Regions from separate parts of the Homo sapiens genome. Here all the other regions are linked to region 1. The links are contacts of gene promoters, found by promoter capture Hi-C in human tissues and cell types (Jung and others, 2019). All regions are on one chromosome and are shown on one strand. The core of a region is centred on a gene start or on the middle of the fragment in contact, and the rest is flanking DNA. Distances in the headings are between cores, read along the strand shown.

Region 1 (3,059 bases), core at 357-2,856:
TGATGGGAAACCAGGGTGCTCTTGGCCTTGCCACCAGCAGAAAATGGTCCCCAGCCCACAGTAGGTGCTCAATAATTATTTACTAAAGGAATGAGTATATCATTGGAAAGACATTGCCCATCTCTAGGCCTCAATTTATCTGTGAGATGGCAGGTCAGGATGGAGATTATAATTTACTGGGAAGACTAAGCCACAGCACAGTGATCCTGTGGTGCTAGTCCTACCTAATTCAGGAGGTCGACACACAGAGGTTCTGGGGGCTCAGGCACTTGTCCACGGTCTGGGATCCTAACCAGTCCGTGACTGCAAATCCAGCTTTTCTTTTTTCTTTTCTTTTTTTGAGACGGAGTTTCGCTCTTGTTGCCCTGGCTGGAGTGCAATGGCAAGATCTCGGGTCACCGCAACCTCCGCCCCGTCCAGGAGAAGGGGCACTGAGGAGGGACCCAGTTCTCCCGCGGCTCTGCCGGATTCAGGCTGCAGCGCTTCCAGCGCTCCCCGAGGTGGGTGCGGGTTTCTACTGTGGCAGCAGGGCGGGCCCCCATCGGCTGGGTTTTCAAATAGAAGAGAAAACCGACCCAGAGGCCGCGCCCTACTGACCTGCGCGGGGGTGCGGGGGGAGTCACGACGACCTCCCCCACCTCCCCCAGCCTCTAGGCTATTACATCCGTCCCCAGCCTTCGGGCTCAGAATAGGAGGCAGGGAAAGGTGTGAGGGGCACTGAGGTCGGGGGAGGAGCGAGAAGACCCGAAAGCCAGGCGTGTTGAGGGCAAGGTGGGCAACAGAACCTTCTTGGTCATTCGAGGCAGCCCTCGCTAATGACCATTGGGGTCCCAACACTCGAATCCCCACCTAAGTCCTATTCAGATAGTGACTGGGAGTGGGAAGGGAGTTTGAGATCCTAAGTCCCACCCTCTGGGCTGGGAGCCTGAGGCCAGAGAGGGGAAGTGATTTCCTCAAGGTCACTCAGCAAAACAGCGCCCAGCCCGGGCCAAAGCTCAGGTGTCTCCCAACCCCCTCCCCCCGGCCATCACCCCCAGAACTCGGTCCCCCGGAGCTGAGGTCTGCGCGACTGGATTTAGGGGCAGAATGAGTGCGTCGGGAACCCCAAAACCCTAGATCAAGATACAAGGGGAGTCGACGGCCCGGAAACCTCGCTGCGGGTGCCCTAAGCGCGAGGCCGCCCGGGCAGGGCCGCCCAGGGACCGGGGCGCTGGGTGCGGGGCACGGGGCTCCACCTCCCGCGGGCTGGGGCGCGCAGCGCGCGGCCCCTTTAAGAAAGTTCGCCGGGCGAGTTCATCAAAGTTTAAAAACTCGCCGTGGAGAAGGGCGCGGGGGAAGAGGAGAGAGGGAGAGCGCTGACCCAGGCGAGAGAGAGGGGAAAGGCCCGGCCGGAGGCCGGCGCCCCGCGGCCGGGGCCGGGGCGAGCCCACGGTGGGCGGTGGGGATTGGCTGCGCGTTCCCCCGGAGACCGCGCGGCGGGCGGGGGAGGGGGCTGGCCGGGCCCCAGCTGAGGCCGGTTCCGGCCCCGCCCCCCGCCGCCGGCGCCCGCCCCCTCCCCCGGCGCCCGCCCCCCGCCGCCGCTGCCGCCGCCGCCGCCGCCGCGGCGCACTCGCCGGTCGCAGTGAAAAGGCGGAGGCGGCGGCCCCTCCGGCTCCCACTGCCTCCCCCGCCGCACCCCCTCCCCACCTTCCGCACCCGCCAAACTTGATGTGACCCTGGCCCGACGCGGAGGCTGCCCCTCTCACTGCCCCGTGGGTCCCCCGCCACCCGCTCCGCACCCGCGAGCGCACCGCTCCCCGCGCCCCTTCCCACTTCCCGCGGGGCCGGCGCCGCGCTCGCCCTCGCGTTCCTTCCCGCCGCCCCCTCCCCCGCACCATGAGCAACCTGAAGCCGGACGGCGAGCACGGCGGCAGCACCGGCACCGGCTCCGGCGCGGGCTCCGGCGGCGCCCTGGAGGAGGAGGTGGGTCTGTGGCCCCGGGACTTGCCGGGTGAAGCGCACGCCAGGCGGGCGCGGGAGAGGGCGAGCGGGGCCTGCCGCGCCTCGCGGGGCCGGGGTGGCCATCGCTCCCGGCGCCTTCCCGCCGCTGCCCTCTCGCCCGGGTAGGAGCGGCCCGTGTCCGCGGGCGGGAGCGTGCGGCCTGGACTGCCCCGCCGGACAGGCATTGTCTCCCCGCCCTCTCGGGCTCGAGGCGGGCCGCGCGCGCCGGCCGCCGTCCGGGCGTCCCGCGGTGGGCGAGATGCGCCGCGTCCGTTCCATGCCTGCCGCCCGCGCGCCCCTTGCTCCCCACCCCGTAGCCGCTCGCCGCCCTCCTCCGAGGCGCACCTCCTGCGTGGCCAGGACCCCGCCTCGGCGGCACGGAGCGGAGCGGGATTAGCACGGCCCGAGGGCGGCACCCTCACTCCACTGCCTTTTCCGCCCTGACCCCCTCCCCGTGACCTTGGAGGCCTGGGCCGGCCGGCTCCTCGGTTCCTGCGAGCTGTTGTCATGGGGGTGGGCGGGCTTTCTTCACAGCCCCAGAACCTGGGCTTTGGCAGAGGTGAGCCCACAATTTAATTAGTTTGGAAGATGACTAAAGACACTCAGTTCGTCCTTCTCCTCTCTCTGGGTTTGTCCTGGCAACCAAGCCAGGACCCCAAAGCTGGCCTGGGTGGGATCCTGCCAGGAGGGGCGAAATCATCTCGTCCACCGGCCATGTGCGAAAGGGAGGGAGTGTAAGGCGGCTCCGTGGAACCACCAGCAGCTGGGTGGTTAATGGATGGTAGGGAGGATGTGTGTGCGGGGTGGGGTGCTGGATAAAAGCCTCAAAGATATCAGTGAATAGGGACGAGGAGCTAGGCTGGCGGAGACAAGAACTGGAGTAGAAGGGGACAGGCTTCGCAGGGCCTCTGGCCTCTGCTGCGTCATTCTAGGGGTGAGAGAGCCTTCCTGCCCCTGCCCTGGCATGTTCTCGCCCAGGAAACCAAGGGCTGGTTATCCACCTTGGGCGCCCTTCCCCTTGGCCTGGGGGAGAAACCGCAGAGCCCCTGGTGTGGACTGGTGTTGCCTCCTCCCCTTGT
Region 2 (3,059 bases), core at 332-2,831, 500 kb after region 1:
ATCTTCTTTCTAATTACCTCATTCACTTCTGTTTTATACATTGGGGCCAGATTAATATTTTTTATTTTGTTTATAACTGACACATAATAATTGTACATGCTTATGGGGTAGAGTGTGATGTTTCAATACATCTGTACATTATATAATAAAATAAGGGTAGTTAGCATGTTCATAGCCTTCAATCTTTATCCTTCCTTTGTGATAATAACTTTCAAGATTCTCTTGTCTAGCTATCTTGAAATATACAGTGCAGTAAGTTCTCACTTAACTTCATCAATAGGTTCTTGGACACTGTGATTTTAAGTGAAACCATGTATAAAGAAACTAATTTTACAGTGGGGTAATTGATAAAAACAAGAGTTAAGGCCAGGCACAGTGGCTCATGCCTGTAATTTCAGCACTTTGGGAAGCCGAGGTGGGTGGATCTCTTGAGCACAGGAGTTTGAGACCAGCCTGGGCAACATGGCAAAACCCTGTCTCTACAAAAATTAGCTGGATGTGGTGGTGCATTCCAAGATTTCTTGAGCCTAGGAGACTGAGACTGCAGTGAGCTGTGATTGCACCGCTGCACTCCAGCCTGGGCGACAGAGCAAGACCCCATTCCAAAACACCACCAGACCTGCCTTACAAGAGATCTTGAAAGGAGCAATAAATATAGAAAGGAAAGACTACTACCAGCTAATACAAAAACATACTTAAATATACAAACTAGTGAAACTATAAAGTAACCTCACAAACAAGCCAGCATAATAACCAGCTAACAACACATTGTCAGGATCAAATCCATACCTATCAATACTAGCCTTGAATGTAAACAGGCTAAATACCCCCATTTAAAAGTCACAGAGTGGGGCCGGGCGTGGTGTCTCACACCTGTAATCCCAGCACTTTGGGAGGCCGAGGTGGGCGGATCACAAGGTCAGGAGATTGAGACCATCCTGGCTAACACGGTGAAACCCCGTCTCTACTAAAAAATACAAAAAAATTAGCCAGGCATAGTGGCAGACGCCTGTAATCCCAGCTACTGAGGAGGCTGAGGCAGGAGAATGGCATGAACCCAGGAGGCAGAGCTTGCAGTGAGCCGAGATTGCGCCACTGCACTCCAGCCTGGGCGACAGAGCAAGACTCCATCTCAAAAGAAAAAAAAAAAAGTCACAGAGTGGCAAGCTGGATAAAAAGCAAGACCCAATAGTATGTTGTCTTCAAGAGACCCATGTCATGTAATGATATCCGTAGGCTCAAAATAAAAGGATGGAGGAAAATCTACCAAGCAAATGGAAAATAGAAAAAGGCAGGGATTGCAGTTCTAATTTCAGACAAAACAGACTTTAAACCAACAAAAATCAAAAAAGATAGAAGGACATTACATAGTGGTAAAAGGTTCAATTCAATAAGAAGACCTAACTATCCTAAGTATATATGCACCCGACACAGGAGCACCCAGATTCGTAAAGCAAGTTTTTAGATACCTACAAAGAGATGTAGACTCCCACACAATAATAGCAGCACTCCACTGACAGTATCAAACAGATGATTGAGGCAGAAAATTAACAAAGGTATTCAGGACCTGAACTCAACATTGCACCAAATGGATCTTACAGACCTCTACAGAGCTCTGCACTTCAAAACAACAGAATATACATTCTTCTCATCACCACATGGCATATACTCTAAAATCAACCACATATTTGGACATAAAACAATTCTCAGCAAATTCAAAAGAACCAAAATCATATCAAACACATTCTTGCACCACAGTACAATTAAAATGAAGGCCAAGGCTGGGCACTGTGGCTAACACCTGTAATCCCAGCACTTTGGGAGGCCAAGGTGGGCTGATTGCTTGAGCTCGGGAGTTCAAGACCAGCCTGGGCAACATGGCGAGACCCTGTCTCTACTAAAAATACCAGAAAAAAATAGGTGTGGTGATGTGCACCTGTGGTCTCAGCTACTTGAGAGGCTGAGGTGGAGGATTGCTTGCGTCTTGGGGAGGCGGAGGTTGCAGTGAGCCAAGATGGGGCCATTGTAGTCCAGCCTCGGTGACAGAGTGAGACCCTGTCTCAAAATAAATAAATAAATTGGCCGAGTTCAGTGGCTCACACCTGTAATCCCAGCACTTTGGCAGGCTGAGACAGGCGGATCACTTGAGTTCAGGAGTTCAAGACCAGCCTGGCCAACATGGTGAAACCCTGTCTCTACTAAAAATACAAAAATTAGCTAGGTGTGGTGGTACATGCCTGTAGTCCCAGCTACTCTGCTCAGGAGACTGAGTCAGGAGAATCACTTGAACGCAGGAGGCAGAGGTTGCAGTGAGCTGAGATCGTGCTGCTACACTCCAACCTGGGAGACAGAGCGAGACTCTGTCTCAAAAATAAATAAATAAATAAAATACACACATACATAGTAAAATAAAATAGAAGTCAAGACTAAGAAAATCACTCAAAACCATGCAGTTACATGGAAATTAAACAACCTACTCCTGAATGACTTTTGGGTAAATAATGAAATAAAGACAGAAATCAAGAAGCCCTTTGAAATTAATGAGAACGAAGATACAACATACCAGAGTCTCTGGGACACAGCTCAGGTAGTGTTTTTTTTTTTTTTTGAGACGGAGTCTCACTCTGTCACCCAGGCTGGAGTGCAGTGGCACGATCTCTGCTCACTGCAAGCTCCGCCTCCTGGGTTCACGCCATGTTCCTGCCTTAGCCTCCCGAGTAGCTGGGACTACAGGCGCCTGCCACCACGCCCGGCTAATTTTTTTGTATTTTTAGTAGAGACGGGGTTTCACTGTGTTGGCCAGGATGGTCTCGATCTCCTGACCTCGTGATCCGCCCATCTCGGCCTCCCAAAGTGCTGAGATTACAGGCGTGAGCCACTGCGCCCGGCCACAGCTCAGATAGTGTTAATAGGGAAATTCATAGCAATAAATGTCCACATCAAAAAGTTAGAAAGATCTCAAATTAACAACCTAGTATCACAATGAAAATAATTAGAGAAACAAGAACAATTCAACCCCACAGCTAGCAGAGAAGACAAAAAATAACCAAAATCAGAGA
Region 3 (3,059 bases), core at 192-2,691, 490 kb after region 1:
AAGCACAATTTGTTAAGGTTAAGCAGTTTTAACAGATCTTGGAGAAGAATTATTTCTGTCAATAGCATAATCCATCAAAATAAAGTAGAAATGAAGAGTTCTAACCACATTAGGTGACACACAGTCTGCATTGCATTAATATGGTAATTTTAGAAGTGTCACAGATACAATACTTGCAAGATTATGCATTGACATCTTGAATGGTTAACCAGAAGAATGTAATGGTAAAATTTCCAGGCTTGCCAAACAATTCCGGAATTTTTTTTTTTTTTTTTTGATACAGAGTCTCACTTGTTCGCCCAGGCTGGAGTGCAGTGTTGCAATCTCGGCTCGCTGCAGCCTTCATCTCCTGGGTTCAAGTGATTCTCGTGCCTTGCCTCAGCCTCTGGAGTGGCTGGGGTTACAGGCGTGCACCACCACGGCCGGCTAATTTTTGTATTTTTAGTGGAGATGGGGTTTCGCCATGTTGGTCAGGCTGGTCTCAAACTCCTGAGATCAGGTGATCTGCCCACCTTGGCTTCCCAAAGTCCTGGGATTACAGGCATGAGCCACCATGTCTGGCCACAATTTTTGAGGAGGACTATGAAAGTAGGATGGTTATGGGCAACAGAAGTTTATAGAAAGATGTGTTTATGAGGGTGATTCAGAAGCAGTATTTACATGATGTCATCATGCATCCTAAGGAAAAAACTGTCTGAACTTATGGCCTACTTTTCCAGAAGGCGGCAAAGCTTTTGTCAAAGAAAGTGGAGCTTACTGCCAGCTGTTGTGGGCTTTCAAAGAGCAGGTGATGCTGGATTGATTCAATTTTTTTTTTCTATGTTGGGGTTACTAGGACAAGAGGAAATATATATATATACACATGCACACAAACACACACACACATACACACATATATATATATAACTTTATAAAGTATCATGTAATATTTTTTATAATTTATCTTTAATTCCAATAACTAGGTTACATAGATTCTAAAGTTCTGAATCCTATAGGCAAGTGGTTCAATTATTTTATCCATGTCGTCTAGATACCTCCTTATTTCTAAATATTATTTCTTAATTTTTTCAATATTAGATGTTGTTATTGATTGTCTCACAGATGCCATCCCTAATGACGTACATACCTTGCCCATATTCTCCCAATATACTTATGTCATATTTTTTGGTTCAATAATTTTTTTACATTTACAGCTTTATGGCTGTGGAAGTATTGTTTACAACCAATCTATGAGAGCACTGTTACTGTATTTCCTTTTTAGTATGACTCCATCATTCCTTCCCTCAGAATTAAAAATTGCTGATACTTGATTTTTAAAAAAAATTCTTAGTTATCAATATACCTTTCATTAATTTTTTTTCCTCAAGTCCAACAATTAAAAAATTTGTCATGATATTAGGTAATTCTGTGTTTAGATTCCTTTTCTGCTGGATGGCTTAGTTTTGCTAAGTCATTTACCATTTGTTTATTCAATTCTCATCTTCCAAAATGTTGACATCTCTAGTCTACTGTTTCCTCACCTGTTCTCTTTGTCCTTTCTTGTTTCCTTTGTCCTTTCAGTGGGGTTTTGGAAATAAATAGAGCTAAATGTCTCAATTTTTTTCTGCCATGTTAAACTAGATGTCTATGTTATACATTTTTATTTCAGCAGGGCATTTATTTGACATACTTTTGTGTATTCTGGTAACATATAGAAATGTGCGGTGACTGAAAAGATAATTAAGTAGATTTGTCATTCCTTTAACCATCTTCATAAAAGAGAATGAGTTAATGGATCATTGCCCTCATTGATGCTAAACAGTAGAATTCTGTATTTTGGTCCTATCCACTTCAACAGTGAATTGGATCAAACCTTTGAAGAACATACTGATGAAAGCTGTACACAACACAGTGCTTTGGGTGGGGCAGCTAATATGTATTGCTGGTTAACAGAATCAAGATTCAGCATTATATTAAATAAGCAAAGAGTTGAACAAAAGTCCTAACCATGGTTCACAAACCAGTTCTACTGTACAATTTTAGATTTGACAACTAGATTAGCAAAAATTAATATGAAAAAGATGACTGTAAGTTTAGAATGAGACAAGAATGGTCCCAGGCTTCCCAAAAGTTTATGGTAACTTTGAGTAACTTAATATGTGAAGTCCAGATCAACAAAAGTAGTTAAGTTTTAGACTTATAAGGAACTTTAGCATTGTCTAGTTCAACTGTCATCGTTTTAAAGATGAGAGAAATTAAAAATTAAGTGACTTGGTCTAGGGAGAACAACCAGCTTGTCACAGAATTGGAACTACAGCCCAGATCCAAGACATCACAAGTAGCTATTTCTATTATATGCCATGTAGTCTTACCGGTTACTGGTTAAATGTATAGTTGAAATACCACAAGCCAGAAAAAAATAGTTACAAAAGACATCAGAATAAATGTCTAATTATAATACAAAGATGATAGTCATTAGCATTTAATATAATTACATGTTACCAGAAAAAGAAATATAAATAAAGTATAAAATGATAACTAATGATCTTTTAAGTGACACCATCTAGTTTTTATGGTGGATCATCCCCAACATTAATCGTCAGAGATTTTCCAGGGGGTGAGGAGGAAAAACATTGGTAAATTAATTATTGTGAAGTTTAATATTATACTATTGCAAAGTAAATTTAGAGCAGAATCAAAGTGGAGGATGTTATAAACACTATGCCTCTTTCAAATAAAAGGCTAGGGGTAGATTTCCATAATTACCTAGCCATTTATTCATTTAACAAATTGTATTGAGCATCTGGTTTTTTGGCAGGCATTTAGCTAGGCCCTGGGGGTACAAAGATCATAAATAAGACATGGACCCTGCTTTTGCCAAGATCATTATTTGGGGATTCATACTTAGAAATTAGTAACTATACTGCAATGCAGTAAGTAAAATAATAGAAGAAATATATAAGATAATTAGCTTATATATATTTATAATTCTAAGTGTTTTTTGATTAAAGGACTATTCCAGGTAGTTTGGGTTAATGTTTGTACTGTGAAACTAGAAGTTAACATGTTAACAATATGAG
Region 4 (3,059 bases), core at 305-2,804, 470 kb after region 1:
GAGACCTCGTCTCTACAAAAAAATATAATAAACAAAAATGTACAACAGGTAGAACAGACGAATTTATGAAATTGAGATTAGTTGTTTTCACTGAAAAAAGTAAGGGATCTGAAGGTGTAAACCCAAAGACAAATTTTATTTATAATTTACTTTTTAGTTGTAGGATCCAGTCATTTCCAGAGATCAACGTTATAAGGAAATAAGATAAAAATAAGTATTATAGATTAAGTGGACAGTGTTTTCTGTGCCTTTTTGGCAAGTAGAAGACGAACATTTTTTTCCCTGACCACATAAGCGTAAGTTGCTGACAGGCAGGGCGCGGTGGTTCACGCCTGTAATCCCAGCACTTTGGGAGGCTGAGGCGGGTGGATCATGAAGTCAGGAGGTTGAGACCATCCTGGCTAACATGGTGAAACCCCGTCTCTACTAAAAATACAAAAAATTAGCCAGGCGTGGTGGTGGGCACCTGTAGTCCCAGCTACTCAGGAGGCTGAGGCAGGAGAATGGCGTGAACCCGGGAGACGGAGCTTGCAGTGAGCCGAGATTGCACCACTGCACTCCAGCCTGGGTGACAGAGCGAGACTCCGTCTCAAACAAAAACAAAATCAAAAACAAGTAAGTTGCTGACAAGATGTTTCATAAGTCCCCGTACTTTAGTGTACTACTAAAATGTAGTCTGAAGATTAGATATACTGTGGTGTGTATGTATATATATATGTACATGAAATACAGTAGTGTATACTAAATAGAGACAGGGTTTTGCCACGTTGTCCAGGCTGGTCTTGAACTCCTGGCCTCAAGTGATCCACCTGCCTCAGCCTCCCAAAGTGCTGGGACTACAGGCATGAGCCACCATGCCTGGCCAATATTTTGTAGTTTTGAGCATAGATTTTTGTACAGGTTTTGTAATATAGCTTCCTAAGTTTCTTGTTGCTTTTTTTAGATAGAATTATTACTTTAATTAACAGGCTTTATTTTTAGATTTTTTGGGTACAGTTTTAGGTTTACAGAGAAATGGAGTGGAGAGTACAGAGTTCCCCTATATCCCCCAACACTCCTCCACCCCCGTTTTCCCCTATTATTAATGTCTTGCATTACTATGCTACATTTGTAGTAGTTAACGAACCAATATTGACACGTTATTAACTAAAGTCGGTAGTTTACATTAGATAGAATGTATTACACTATTTGTATTATACATTCTATGGATTTGGACAAATGTATAATGACATGCATCTACCATTATGGTATCATACAGAATAGTTTTCCTGCTCTAAAAATCCCCTGGGCTCCACCTGTTCACCCGCCCCCCTCCCCACCCACAATATCTGGCAACCATTGATCTTTTTACCATCTCCATAGTTAGGATTTTTCTAGAATGTCATGAATTTGGAATGTAGTATTTAGCTTTTTCAAATGGATTTCTTTCACTTAGCAATATGCATTTTAGGTTCTTCTATGTCTTTTTGTAGCTTTCAATAATTCATTTCCTTTTATTGCTGAATGATATTCCATTGCATGGCTATACCACAAATTTGTTTATTCATTCACCTATTGAAGGAAATCTTAGTGTTTTCATTTTTTGACAACTACAAATGAAGCTGCTGTAAACGTTTAGGTGGTGGTTTTTGTGTGGACTTAAGTTTTCATTTCATTTGGGTCAATACCAAGAAATGTGCTGGGTCATAGGTAAGAGTATGTTTAGTTACATAAGAAACTGCCAAACTTTCTTCCAAAATAGCCGTACCATTTTGCATTCTCACCAGCAGTGAATGAGAGTTCCTATTGCTCCATATCTTCCTTAGCATTTGATGTTGTCAGTGTTTTGGATTTTCACTATTCTAATAAGTGTATAGTGGTATCATTGTTTTAATTTGCAATTCCCTTCTGACATATGGTATTGAGTATATTTTCATATATGTATTTGCCATCCGTATATCTTCTTTGAAGAGACGTCTGATTCAAATATTTTGCTCATATTTTAACTGGGTTGTTTTCTGATTGTTGAGTTTTAAGAGTGTTGTATATTTTAGATAACAGGCCTCTAACAAGTTAAGTGTTTTGTAAATATTTTCTCCTAATCAGTGGCTTATCTTTTCATTCTCTTAGCAGTGCCTTCCCCAGAGCAGAAGTTTTTAGTTTTAGTGAAGTTAAACTTAACAATTTCTTCTTTCATTGATCATGCTTTTGTTGGTATATCTAAGAAGTCATTGTCAAACCCGAAGTCATTTAGATTTTTTCCTATGGCATATAGTAGGAGTTTTATCATTTTGTGTTTTACATTTAGGTTGTGATCCATTTTGATTTTATTTTTGCGAAAGATGTAAGGTCTGTATCTAGATTATTTTTCTTTATTTGCAAATATATGTCTAATTGTTCTAGCACCATTTGTTAAAAAGACTATCCTTTCTCCATTGAATTGCCTTTGCTCCTTTGTCAAAGATTGGTATGAATATATTTGTGTGAATCTATTTCTGGGCTTTCCATTCTGTTCCATTGATTTATTTGTGTTTTTTTTTTTTTGCAATATCACACTGTCTTGAGTACTGTAGCTTTATAGTAAGTTTTTTTTTTGTTTTTGTTTTTGTTTTTTTTTTTTTGGAGACAGGGTCATACTGGCACTATCATAGCGCACTGCAACCTTGAACTCCTGGGCTCAAACAATCCTCCCAGTTCTGCCTCCTGAGTAGCTGGTTCCATAGGTGTATACCACCTTGCCCGGCCAATTTTTATTTTTATTTTGTAGAGACAGGATCTCGTTTTGTTGCCCAGGCTGTTCTTGAACTCCTGGGCTCAAGTGATTCTCCCCACTGTGGCCTCCCAACACACTGGGATTACAGATGTGAGTCACTGCACCTGGCCTTTTGTTTTGTTTTGTTTTAGCTTAAATGCATTTCAAGCCTTGTATTGGTACTCAAATTGTCCTACAGTGTCTTTTAATTTGTCCTATAGTTATTGATAGTTTTATAAACACACATTCATGTGTGCACTGGAGCACACAGATATCATTTTTGCTTAATGTTTGCTAAATACTTATTCTGGGTATGATACTGCTCTTG
Region 5 (3,059 bases), core at 277-2,776, 410 kb before region 1:
CAGTGAGCTGAGATGGTGCCACTGCACTTCAGCCTGGGTGACAGATGGAGACTCTGTCTCAAAAAAAAAGTTATGTGCCTTCAGCTATGTAGTTCGCAAAAAGTAAATAACTCAAGGAGTTAACTCCTCCAGTGTAAACTATTTGAGCTGGAAAACTGCACTTGACTTTCTTTTTAAAGCGTCATTAATCTGTCAGAAAACAGCTGAAAGTAGGTGTGATGTGGAAGGGCTGATGTGACCACAAGTATTTGCCATCACTTTCCTGGTGAAGGATCCATTTTCTCACAGGGATAATCTCAGATGGCTCTGGGTTTTTTTTTTTTTTTTTTGAGACGGAGTCTCGCTCTGTCGCCCAGGCTGGAGTGCAATGGCACGATATCGGCTCACTGCAACCTTCGCCTCCTGGGTTCAAGCAATTCTCCCACCTCAGCCTCCTGAGTAGCTGGGATTACAGGAGTACGCCACCACACCTACCTAATTTTTGTATTTTTAGTAGAGATGGGGTTTCACCATGTGGGTCAGGCTGGTCGCAAACTCCTGACCTCGTGATCCACCTGCCTCGGCCTCCCAAAGTGCTGGGATTACAGGTGTGAGCCACCACGCCCAGCCGGCTCTGTGCTTTTGAATTCATAACTTGAGAGGATGGCCTGATAGGAACCTGACCAGAGGTTATCTATGCAGTGCCATCCTTAATCACGGCCGGGTGCGGTGGCTCACGCCTGTAATCCCAGCACTTTGGGAGGGCGAGGCGAGAGGATCACTTGAGCCCAGGAGTTTGAGACCAGCCTGGGCAACATAGGGAGACCTCATCTTTACTAAATTAAAAAAAAGAAAGAAAGAAAAGAAAACCCTCAAGACTTTAAAGCACCCACGGACTAGCAACAGCTAGAAGCTTTATCACCACGAGGCCTGAAAGAACAAGGAGACGGAGCTGTTACCAACTAACAATTGCTGCTCAGGGAACTAACTGACAATACCAACTCCATGTTACAAGTGATGAAACTAAGGAGAATGAGAAGATAAGGAACACAGGATGTGGAATTCCGGGGGAAGAAATTTAGTGAATCTGAAGCATCCAGCGCCTACCAAGGCACTTTAGAGACTTCCCCCTGGAGGGTTAAGCCACCAGCCTCACCTTGACCTTCCCTGCCGCCCACTAAAAGTGACCGGAAGAGCTCGACTATGACGACTCGGGACTACAAGTCCCGGCATGCATCTCTCCGCGTCTATCGCAAAACCTTTCAACTTTAGGATAAAAGGGCTTTTGGCAACCTTGAGCGTCGGGACCTGTAGTCGCCCCAGTTGGGGCTAGACGCTTGCCGTAGGGAACTCATTGGCGCCCAGGGCACCACCCCCTCGCCTTCGCCTCACGTAGCTTCACCAGCTCGCAAACACGGCGCGTGCCCACGCCCTCCGCCCCCTCCCCGGGCCTAGGGCGCAGGCGCGCGCAAGCTCCCCGGGCCCAGTAGGCTGGGGGTGGGGGTAGAAGGAGAAGGAGGGGAAGGGAGGGGGGGGTTGGGTGTCTACTCTGGTGAATAGACGGCTGTGGGGCAGAGAAGCGTGAAGGCCTGGCTGCCGGGCAGGTGAACTCTCCACGGGGTCTAGGGCCCGCGAAAGGGTTCGGAACCGAGTCAGCGCGCCTTGCGGGCAGGATTCACGCCGCTGTGACCCGGAGGTCCTCAGGGGGCGAAGCCCCGGCCTAGGCCTCGCGGAGATGCCCAGCTGCGGTGCTTGTACTTGCGGCGCGGCGGCCGTCCGGCTCATCACCTCCTCACTCGCCTCCGCGCAGAGAGGTAACGAAATAGTGCCACTCCTGAGCCCTCAGCCTGTCGGGGGGGGGGTGGACTGGCCAATGGTTGGGGGCCCCGGGGAGGGCACGAGGCCTGCTGCACCCGGGGAGTGTGAGGGAATGCGCGGCGCTTCGCCCGGCACCCACCACTTTCCCCGTGGAATGGGGCTCTGCCAACCTCTGGAGCAGCCGTTGCTCAAATTGGAAGTAAACTCCTTCCCACGCGCCTGCCTGCACGCTTTCAGGCCTGCTGACTTTGGGGCCGGAATGCGGCCACTTTGTAGAAACCCTGAAAGGCACAAAATGCTCCTGTTATTAAAAAATGTCTCCAGATCCCACTCAGCCCTGCCGGGGACCGCCGCCTGCCATGGCTGCGGCTCTTCTTCCGCAGCCTGGCCGGGATCCCCCTCGGGCCCGTTGGGGGCTCCAGGAGGGGCTCGGCTGAGGATCTGTCCCTACTAGGGTCCCCCAGGACTCGGGGCACCCAGCTGGCCGTCCCGGACGCAAGCCGCGCGATACCCGAGATGTTACTATCACTGTGCGGCCCTGACACTGGGACATAAACAAGGTTCACAATACTTCCCGGCGTCAGGCAAGCCCCGGGGCCCGCAGGACAGCGGCGGGAGAGATGGGGAGAAGTCCCGCAGGAGTTGGTTCGGAAGTACTTGGGTGTTTCAGCAGTCCTTTGCTGGCTTTCCCAACTTGACCGGGAGGTAGTTTCCTAAGAGTGGCGCATGTTGTTTACCTTTTCTTTCTGTTTATCTGAAGCTGTGAAAGAATGGCGCCCCAGCCAAGAGAGTCTGGAAAATAAACTTTTTTTCTCTTCCTCAAATCTGTGGAAGTCAGACCACGAGGCTAGATCCTGTTATAATGACTGACTTCTAGACAAATTCGTTTTATTTTGGCTTATCGGTTTATGACCCTTGGATGGATTTTTAAAAAGGCCCCTTTTATCTAACTTCTAAGCCAATTATAAAATCCTTATTGTTTACTAAATATATCTTCCAGTTTCTTTACTACAGAAGGAAGGATTGAATGAGGTAACGTGGGCAGAAGCATTTTGTAAAATGATATATAAATGTAAGGGAGTAAATTTAATCCTAAATCGATGTTAAGCCTCAACCAGTAGATGTCCCGATTCCAGGAATTCGATTTGCAAACACTTTAAAGTGACATATTTTAATCCATTTATCTGATATATATTAATATTTGTCAAGGGTCCACTGTGTGTCAGGCCTTCTTTTAGTGCTGGAGGTAGAGTGGTGAATAA
Region 6 (3,059 bases), core at 376-2,875, 320 kb after region 1:
TTGTTCCTCACTCAAAAAGAAGAGCCTTTCTCTCTGGCCTCCTCCAATGGCAAGCCCCAGTCTGGAAAAGGAAGAAAATGGCACTGAGGAGCCTGGGAGATGGAGCATATCCAAAGCTCTCAGACAAGACTTGAACCTATGACCTTCACTGTGTACACAATAGGCGGGTGAGAGGGACCGGTTTATCTCTGCTGCAGCAGTTCTCAGCCCTGGGGTAGCGCTCCCGATAAAATGACACGACTATTGTGTGTGGCAGCAGAACAGTCATCTCCTCACAACAGCCTAAACCAGCACTCCCTCCCCCAAGACAAAGCAGCAGGGGTGAAATTAACTCAAGGCTGCAGAGCAAAGCCTAATACAGAAAAGGGAGGCCTGTAGGGGCTTGGGGACTCTCCTCAACCCCTTAGGCTCTGGACACATGGCTGGAAACAGACAGGCTTTCTTCCCTATCTTTCTCACTCTCATTTAGGTAGGGAGCTGTTTCTTAGAGAATTTAATCATCCGTGATTTGTTCAGAAATATTCCCCCTGAAGGGCTCTGATCTCTCCACCCTGTGTGAGCCTAATTCCTCGAAGCTGAAATGACTGTTTGCTGCTGCCTGTTTCACAAACACACATTAATTGGTCAGATGTGTCTCCTCCTCCTCAACCCCAGAGGGAGGAAGGAGAATCTGAGCAAAGCACAGAGATGATCCAACCGTAATTACACATAAAGGGAAAAGAGGGCAGCATGGGTTTTCCAAACAGGATAGGGTCACAAACCCTCCCGGGGGTACAAGGATAGCAGTTGAGGTCCAGGCCCAGGGATCCCTCCATCTTGAAGAAAAGGACAGGAGTAAATGTGACCTGAAGACTGTTAGGGGCACACACCCACAACCTACTTACTGCAGGATCCCAGCCACCTTGCTCCCCACTCCTAGGTCACGCACACGTCCTGCTTCCGACCCTATGCTCTGAACAACCACCACCGCCCCCGCCCCCCCTCCCCCGCCAACTCCCTGACTGGCCCCAGTCGCCCCGAGCGCCCTCAACATACCCAGACTCGCCTCAGAAACTCTCTGGCCTGCTCCCATAACCTAGCCAGACCCTAATCCCCTCCCGGGCACCCCTACCCTCAGCCTGAACCGGCCGTGGCCACGCTTTGAACTTCACCCCGCGCCCCTCGACGCCCCCTCCCCCACCCACGCAACGACCCCCCCTACACACCTTCCCCTCGCTCCGCCCCAGCCCCCCCAACCCCCACTTCCTCCGTCAGGCAGCGCCGCCGCCCCCGGCCCCCATCAGATCCCCTCAGCCCCGCGCCCCATCGGTGCCGCCGCCTCTTTCCTCCCCCAGTCCCGGCTCCACACAAAGCTCCGGACTCACCGCGCGGCCGGTCCCGGGAGCCGCCACCTCCGCCCGCCCGGGGCCCCGGGCCGTAGAGCCGCCGCTGCTACGGGGCCCAGGCCGCCATCCGTTCCCGCGGCCCCTCCCCCCCACCCCACCCCGGCTCCGGCTCCGGCTCCGGCTCTGGCTCTCTGCCCCCTCCCCGCGCCTCTCCGCCCCGCCCGGCCGGTGCCGCTGTGTCCGGGGCCGCGGGTCCCTCAGCCGCCGCCACCGCCGCCGCCGCCGCGATCCGGGACAACCAGAGTCACCCGGAAGACGCGGACACTGGACTGCCAGGCCCTCGGATCCGGATTCCGCGCTTGTGTGGAGTCTGGAGCCGGTGAGCGCAGGGGAAACCCGGAACCTGGATGAAGGAGCGAAATCCTGGGTCTCGGAATGCGCGCTCACCCGGAGCCCAGATTAGGGAGTCTTAGCTCAGGGAATGCTGGAAAACCCGGCGTGCCGGTTAGAACCAAGATAAACTCAAAGAAACCTGGATTAGAGAGCTCGAACCTAACGCTGTCCCCTCGTGGGCAGTAGAACTCTCGCTGGATCAGACTTCCTCATAGAGAGGTCTCTGGGGGGAGTATTGCACCTTATAACACAGAAGACACCTCTTCTGTAGTTGTCCTTCAACCACAGAGAGGAAAGGGCCGTAGGGGATCTGAACATGGGCATCCACAAAGAACAGAAGAGCAATCACAGCTCCTGATGGTTTCATCCATTTTACCCCTTAGTTCAGCAAAGTACCAACCTCCTAATTTTTTATCCTTTGTTCTCCAGCTTTCTCTTTTAGGATTACCACTTGCTTTTCTCCCCAAAGCACCCATTTCTAATCCCTCTATATATCCCTTTTCCCCTCACCATCCTCTATCACTAAATCTTGTTGCCTTTTATTATCTAAAAACCTTATTCTGTCCTTCTCCAACCCACCATTCTAAGGATTGTAGCTTTTATTTTTCCTTATCTGCTATTCATCTCTGATTGCCCAGCATACTATCTAGTGCACAGTAGGCATTCAGTCCATGTTTAAGTGAGCCCTCCCACCCAGCTTTCACTTGTGAAACATCTATTCATGACGACCTCCTAAGACTTCCATCTCATTCCATAGCAAACAAATTTACCTTAATTCTCAAGGCCTCCCACATCCTAGCCCCTATTATGTCCTTCCTGTGTCCTTGACCATTTTATTTTGCTTTGCATTTATCTTACCTTTTTTCCCTTATCCTGGGGCATCCTTCAACAGTGCCACTCAAGATAGCATGTGACTTGGAGATAAAGTGAGGTCATAAAAAGGTGGGGGGAGGGGTTGATAGCTAAAGATAAAAGTAAACCTTTCTGGTCTAGGAAAAATAATCTCTCTTTGGTCCACCAATAGTCATGTTGTTAGACAGTACAGGGGCAGAACTGATCCCAGGTGACAGCGAACTTCCAATGTATACTAGACAAAGTTACAAGTGAGGATTCAGCTACTTAGCAGGTGGAGACAGAGAAGGGTTTAGTGTTTTAGACTTAGGCATGATTTAATTAAGGATTAAACATTCCAGTAGTCATCTCCCACTGAAGGAGCATGACTCTGCCATTGGAGAGAACTAGACTGCAAAAATAGGGAACAAAGGAAGGTAAACATTCCTGCAGTGAACTCCAAGTTTCAGCCAGAGAAAGTTCTCAAGCCTCGAAGAACCACTAAAAATT
Region 7 (3,059 bases), core at 401-2,900, 310 kb before region 1:
GTGATCTGAAGGGCCCAGGTGCCCAAATACCATTAGAGACTAACTCCTTTGTCTCCATCTGCTGAATCTGCGTGCTGAATGGGGTGTGTGTGTAGAGGAACTTTCCTAGAAAAAATAAGGATGGAAGCCTGGAATCAGGGAGGGCAGCCTGATGATGGGTCACCATGGGGAAGCTCTTTCATGAGTGCCCTGGAAGGCAGCACAGGAAATAACATGTTAGGATGGGAGGAGGATTCCAGAGAAGCAGGCTTTAGGTTGGGTGGTCCACTTGCATTGCTTTGTCTCCAGGAAAGTTGCTTTCCCCTAACCTGCGACCTGGCTTTCCTTCCCTGTGAAGAGAGGGGTGGAACTAGAGGCTTATACCCTGCTCCAAGACCCTGCAGCCCAACAAAAGGCCCATTTTCCCTTTGTTAGTTACTCGAATGCCAGAGAGAAGGGCTCCCTCTTTTCATGCTTCCCCAGTCCAGCTGGGGCAGAATCATGAGGGCTGCAGAGGACGCTGCTGGGACAAGACCTCCTCTAGGGGGGTCCTGTATCCCATGCCTATTACTGGCCTGCTGGGGCCAGCCTGTCTTCTGACAGCTGTGTCTCCCACCAGCACAGTTAATTTGCTGCCGTTCCTGGGATGTGACAGCAACTTGAAGCAAAGCAATTAGGATGAAAAAGAGGCCCCAGCTCCTTGAGGCCAAAGGAAAATAAACAGAGCAGCCCTGTGTGTATTCCGCCGCCAAGAGGAGCCATTCTTCAAGGGATGATTAGCATTTCTAATCCCAGCTTCCTCCCTTCCCTTGAAAGAAAAGTGACCGGTGAGCGGCTGCTCTTTTCAGATCCCACTCTTCCCAAGGTGGACTGCAAACTTGACAGCTCGTCACCTCCACAGAAAAGTCTTCCCTGGCCACCTGCCACAGCCCTGCCAGAAATGATACTCCTGTCCTCTGAAATCTGAGAGCCTTTCTCTGTACCTTTCCTATGGAGTTTCCTTGATTGACTGATCAATTCATTAATGCATTCTTTCAACAAACATCCGTTGAGTGCCATTCATTCATTCAACAAATATTTCTTAAGTCCCTACTAAATAAATCATCTCTTAAGCTGCCTACTACGTTCTAGTCATTTTTCTGGGTCCTGATGAGAGAGCAGTGAACAAAACAGAAAAAACCCTCTGCCTTCGTGGAGCTCAAATTTTAGTAGGAGAAAACCAACAGCAAACAAGTGAAAAGATAGCATGGAAGATGATGCTAAAAGCTATGCAGAAAAATAAAACAGGAAAAGGGAGGAGAACATGTAGAGAAGGGGGAGGTAGATTTTAAGTAGGGAGGTTAGGAGAGTCTGTAGGATCGAAGTGACATCTGAGCCAAGACCTGCAGGAAGTGGGGTGGGGCTGAGGCAGTGCGCAGGCAGAGGGACACCAGCCACACACCCTGAGCCCGGAGTGTGCCTGGTGCGTCTGAGGAGCAATGAGGCCAGAGAGGAGTGGGAGGAGATGAAGTCAGGGAGGAAACAGGGTGGGAGAGTCTGAAAGGACTTTGCCTTTCAGAGGGGGCGCACCAGGCTCTGACTGGCATTTTGTTGAACTAGGATGGCTCTGGCTGCCCTGTGAGCACACTGAAGGGAAGCCAGCAAGGAAGCAGGTCCTTGGTGGACAGGGGTGGGGCAGCTTCTCTGCCTCTGCCAGGCGGGCTATATAAACCACATAGGATGATTTCAGGGAGAGGAAGGCTTGGGGTGCAGGACATCTGGAGTCAGGGGCAAGGAGAACGTTTGTGGAAGACTGGAGAGAACTCCAGAGAGTTGGGCTGCAGGGCTGCCACCAGGTTCAGGAAAATGATCCCTGCAGCTTTAAGCTGTGTGAGTGTAGGCCTCTCAGAAAGGACGGACTTCTCAGAGTAAACCTCTGGGCTGGGACAGAGAGATTTCAAATCCAGCCCTCTGAGCTCAGTAACTCCTAAGTGTTTCTGTAATTTGCCCAGCTGCACCTGGTTTGTGCCCCCCACACCTTCATGCAATAGTCAAGCCGAGATGCCGGGGAATGAGAGGCTGAGAATCCCAAGTCCTGAGTTCAAGTCCCTGCTCTTCCACTTAACTGCCTGTGTGACTCTGGGTGAGCCAGCCATTCTGGCTTTCTGCTGGTTTCCTCACAGGCACCCCAGGCACAGTCACCATCCCTGCTGAGGGTGGTGGGCAGTGGTGACACATGCTGACTGTGGGTGGAACAAAGCCTTAACTGTGAGAACCCTTAGACAGAGAAGGTGGGCTGGGTTACAAAGCTTCCCCACACTTCCTGAGACGAGGGAAGTATCAGTGAACGTGCAAATATCCCCCAGGGCCTAAACCAGTCATTACCTGGGCTGAACGGGGCTACTGGTCTCCCAGGTCTATCCTAAGGGAAGAGAACTAGTTAACTTTCCTATGGAAGAGGGAAGAGAAAGGGCTGAGTCCAAGGGAACAAACGAACCCCCAAAAGAGGTGGGGATACATAGAGAAAGGCAAAACGGAGGGAGTGTTAAGGAGACCATTGGAAACACCCTGTCCATCTCAGGATGTCGGCCAAGCAGGCATGTAGCACAGAAGACAAGCCTGTGGCCCTGGGTTCACAGCCAGGTTCTGCCACTACCTAACGAGCCTCTTCTAATCACATGACCGTTGAGCTTTTTTCCCTCCATTAAGCTGCGGGAGTAGGGGTGTTGCCAAACTATCTGCCACTTAAAATTCTCAAAAGCTCAAGTAAGTCAACTGTGGGAAAGCTCTCTGTGAACACTGTGTTATTATTACGCACAAAAGGCATCTCAGAAAGGGCTGCCCTGGATGAAGGGAGGAACAACCAAATGCCAGGAGCCAGCAGGCTGGGGCTAAGCAGCCCCAAGTGCAGACAATGCTGTGGGATAAGAGAGACTAGGAGCTGATGGATTATCATGTGGCAAGTCTCAGGTGTTCAGCACTGGTCAGGAGGAAGGAGGAAAATGCTCTGTACTGTTATGAAAGTTATCTGTAACTTGGAAGTAAGGCAAAAGAAGGATTATTTCCTTTCAATGTCACTTTGGGACACTTTGAACAGAGAA

What was found. Contacts are between HindIII fragments. The study calls those that stand out against the background at their distance.
Region 2: a contact is called between a fragment that was not itself captured here and the fragment with the promoter of RBPMS2 in region 1, in 1 of the 25 tissues and cell types used here (lymphoblastoid cells).
Region 3: a contact is called between a fragment that was not itself captured here and the fragment with the promoter of RBPMS2 in region 1, in 1 of the 25 tissues and cell types used here (lymphoblastoid cells).
Region 4: a fragment that was not itself captured here is called in contact with the fragment with the promoter of RBPMS2 in region 1 in 2 of the 25 tissues and cell types used here (adrenal gland and lymphoblastoid cells).
Region 5: a contact is called between the fragment with the promoter of CLPX here and the fragment with the promoter of RBPMS2 in region 1, in 1 of the 25 tissues and cell types used here (mesenchymal stem cells).
Region 6: a contact is called between the fragment with the promoter of ZNF609 here and the fragment with the promoter of RBPMS2 in region 1, in 2 of the 25 tissues and cell types used here (adrenal gland and liver).
Region 7: a contact is called between a fragment that was not itself captured here and the fragment with the promoter of RBPMS2 in region 1, in 3 of the 25 tissues and cell types used here (IMR-90 fibroblasts, lymphoblastoid cells and spleen).

The regions. Positions count from the first base shown.
Region 1 is chr15:64,774,136-64,777,194 of GRCh38, reverse strand. It overlaps RBPMS2 (RNA binding protein, mRNA processing factor 2), which reads left to right and starts at 1,606. Exons shown (of 8, transcript NM_194272.3): 1 at 1,606-1,962. The coding sequence starts at 1,876. RefSeq lists enhancers at 53-898, 899-1,745 and a silencer at 1,181-1,430. The HindIII fragment of the contact is 13,175 bases long and covers 1-3,059 here.
Region 2 is chr15:64,270,309-64,273,367 of GRCh38, reverse strand. The region is part of intron 2 of CSNK1G1 (casein kinase 1 gamma 1); the gene reads left to right. Among named protein-coding and RNA genes, the nearest start is that of CSNK1G1, 84 kb to the left of the region's middle. The HindIII fragment of the contact is 4,787 bases long and covers 1-3,059 here.
Region 3 is chr15:64,286,397-64,289,455 of GRCh38, reverse strand. All of the region lies in intron 2 of CSNK1G1 (casein kinase 1 gamma 1), which reads left to right. Among named protein-coding and RNA genes, the nearest start is that of CSNK1G1, 68 kb to the left of the region's middle. The HindIII fragment of the contact is 7,080 bases long and covers 1-3,059 here.
Region 4 is chr15:64,305,237-64,308,295 of GRCh38, reverse strand. The region is part of intron 1 of CSNK1G1 (casein kinase 1 gamma 1); the gene reads left to right. Among named protein-coding and RNA genes, the nearest start is that of CSNK1G1, 49 kb to the left of the region's middle. The HindIII fragment of the contact is 8,039 bases long and covers 1-3,059 here.
Region 5 is chr15:65,183,809-65,186,867 of GRCh38, reverse strand. It overlaps CLPX (caseinolytic mitochondrial matrix peptidase chaperone subunit X), which reads left to right and starts at 1,526. Exons shown (of 14, transcript NM_006660.5): 1 at 1,526-1,793. The coding sequence starts at 1,715. RefSeq lists a silencer at 1,278-1,587 and an enhancer at 1,009-1,893. The HindIII fragment of the contact is 6,593 bases long and covers 48-3,059 here.
Region 6 is chr15:64,459,144-64,462,202 of GRCh38, reverse strand. It overlaps ZNF609 (zinc finger protein 609), which reads right to left and starts at 1,625. Exons shown (of 10, transcript NM_015042.2): 1 at 1,365-1,625. LOC105370861 (a long non-coding RNA gene) reads left to right here and starts at 1,616. Exons shown (of 3, transcript XR_932367.3): 1 at 1,616-1,704. RefSeq lists silencers at 1,294-1,393, 1,454-1,573 and an enhancer at 2,034-2,103. The HindIII fragment of the contact is 20,496 bases long and covers 1-3,059 here.
Region 7 is chr15:65,081,079-65,084,137 of GRCh38, reverse strand. No RefSeq gene overlaps it. Among named protein-coding and RNA genes, the nearest start is that of KBTBD13, 5.9 kb to the right of the region's middle. The HindIII fragment of the contact is 8,916 bases long and covers 1-3,059 here.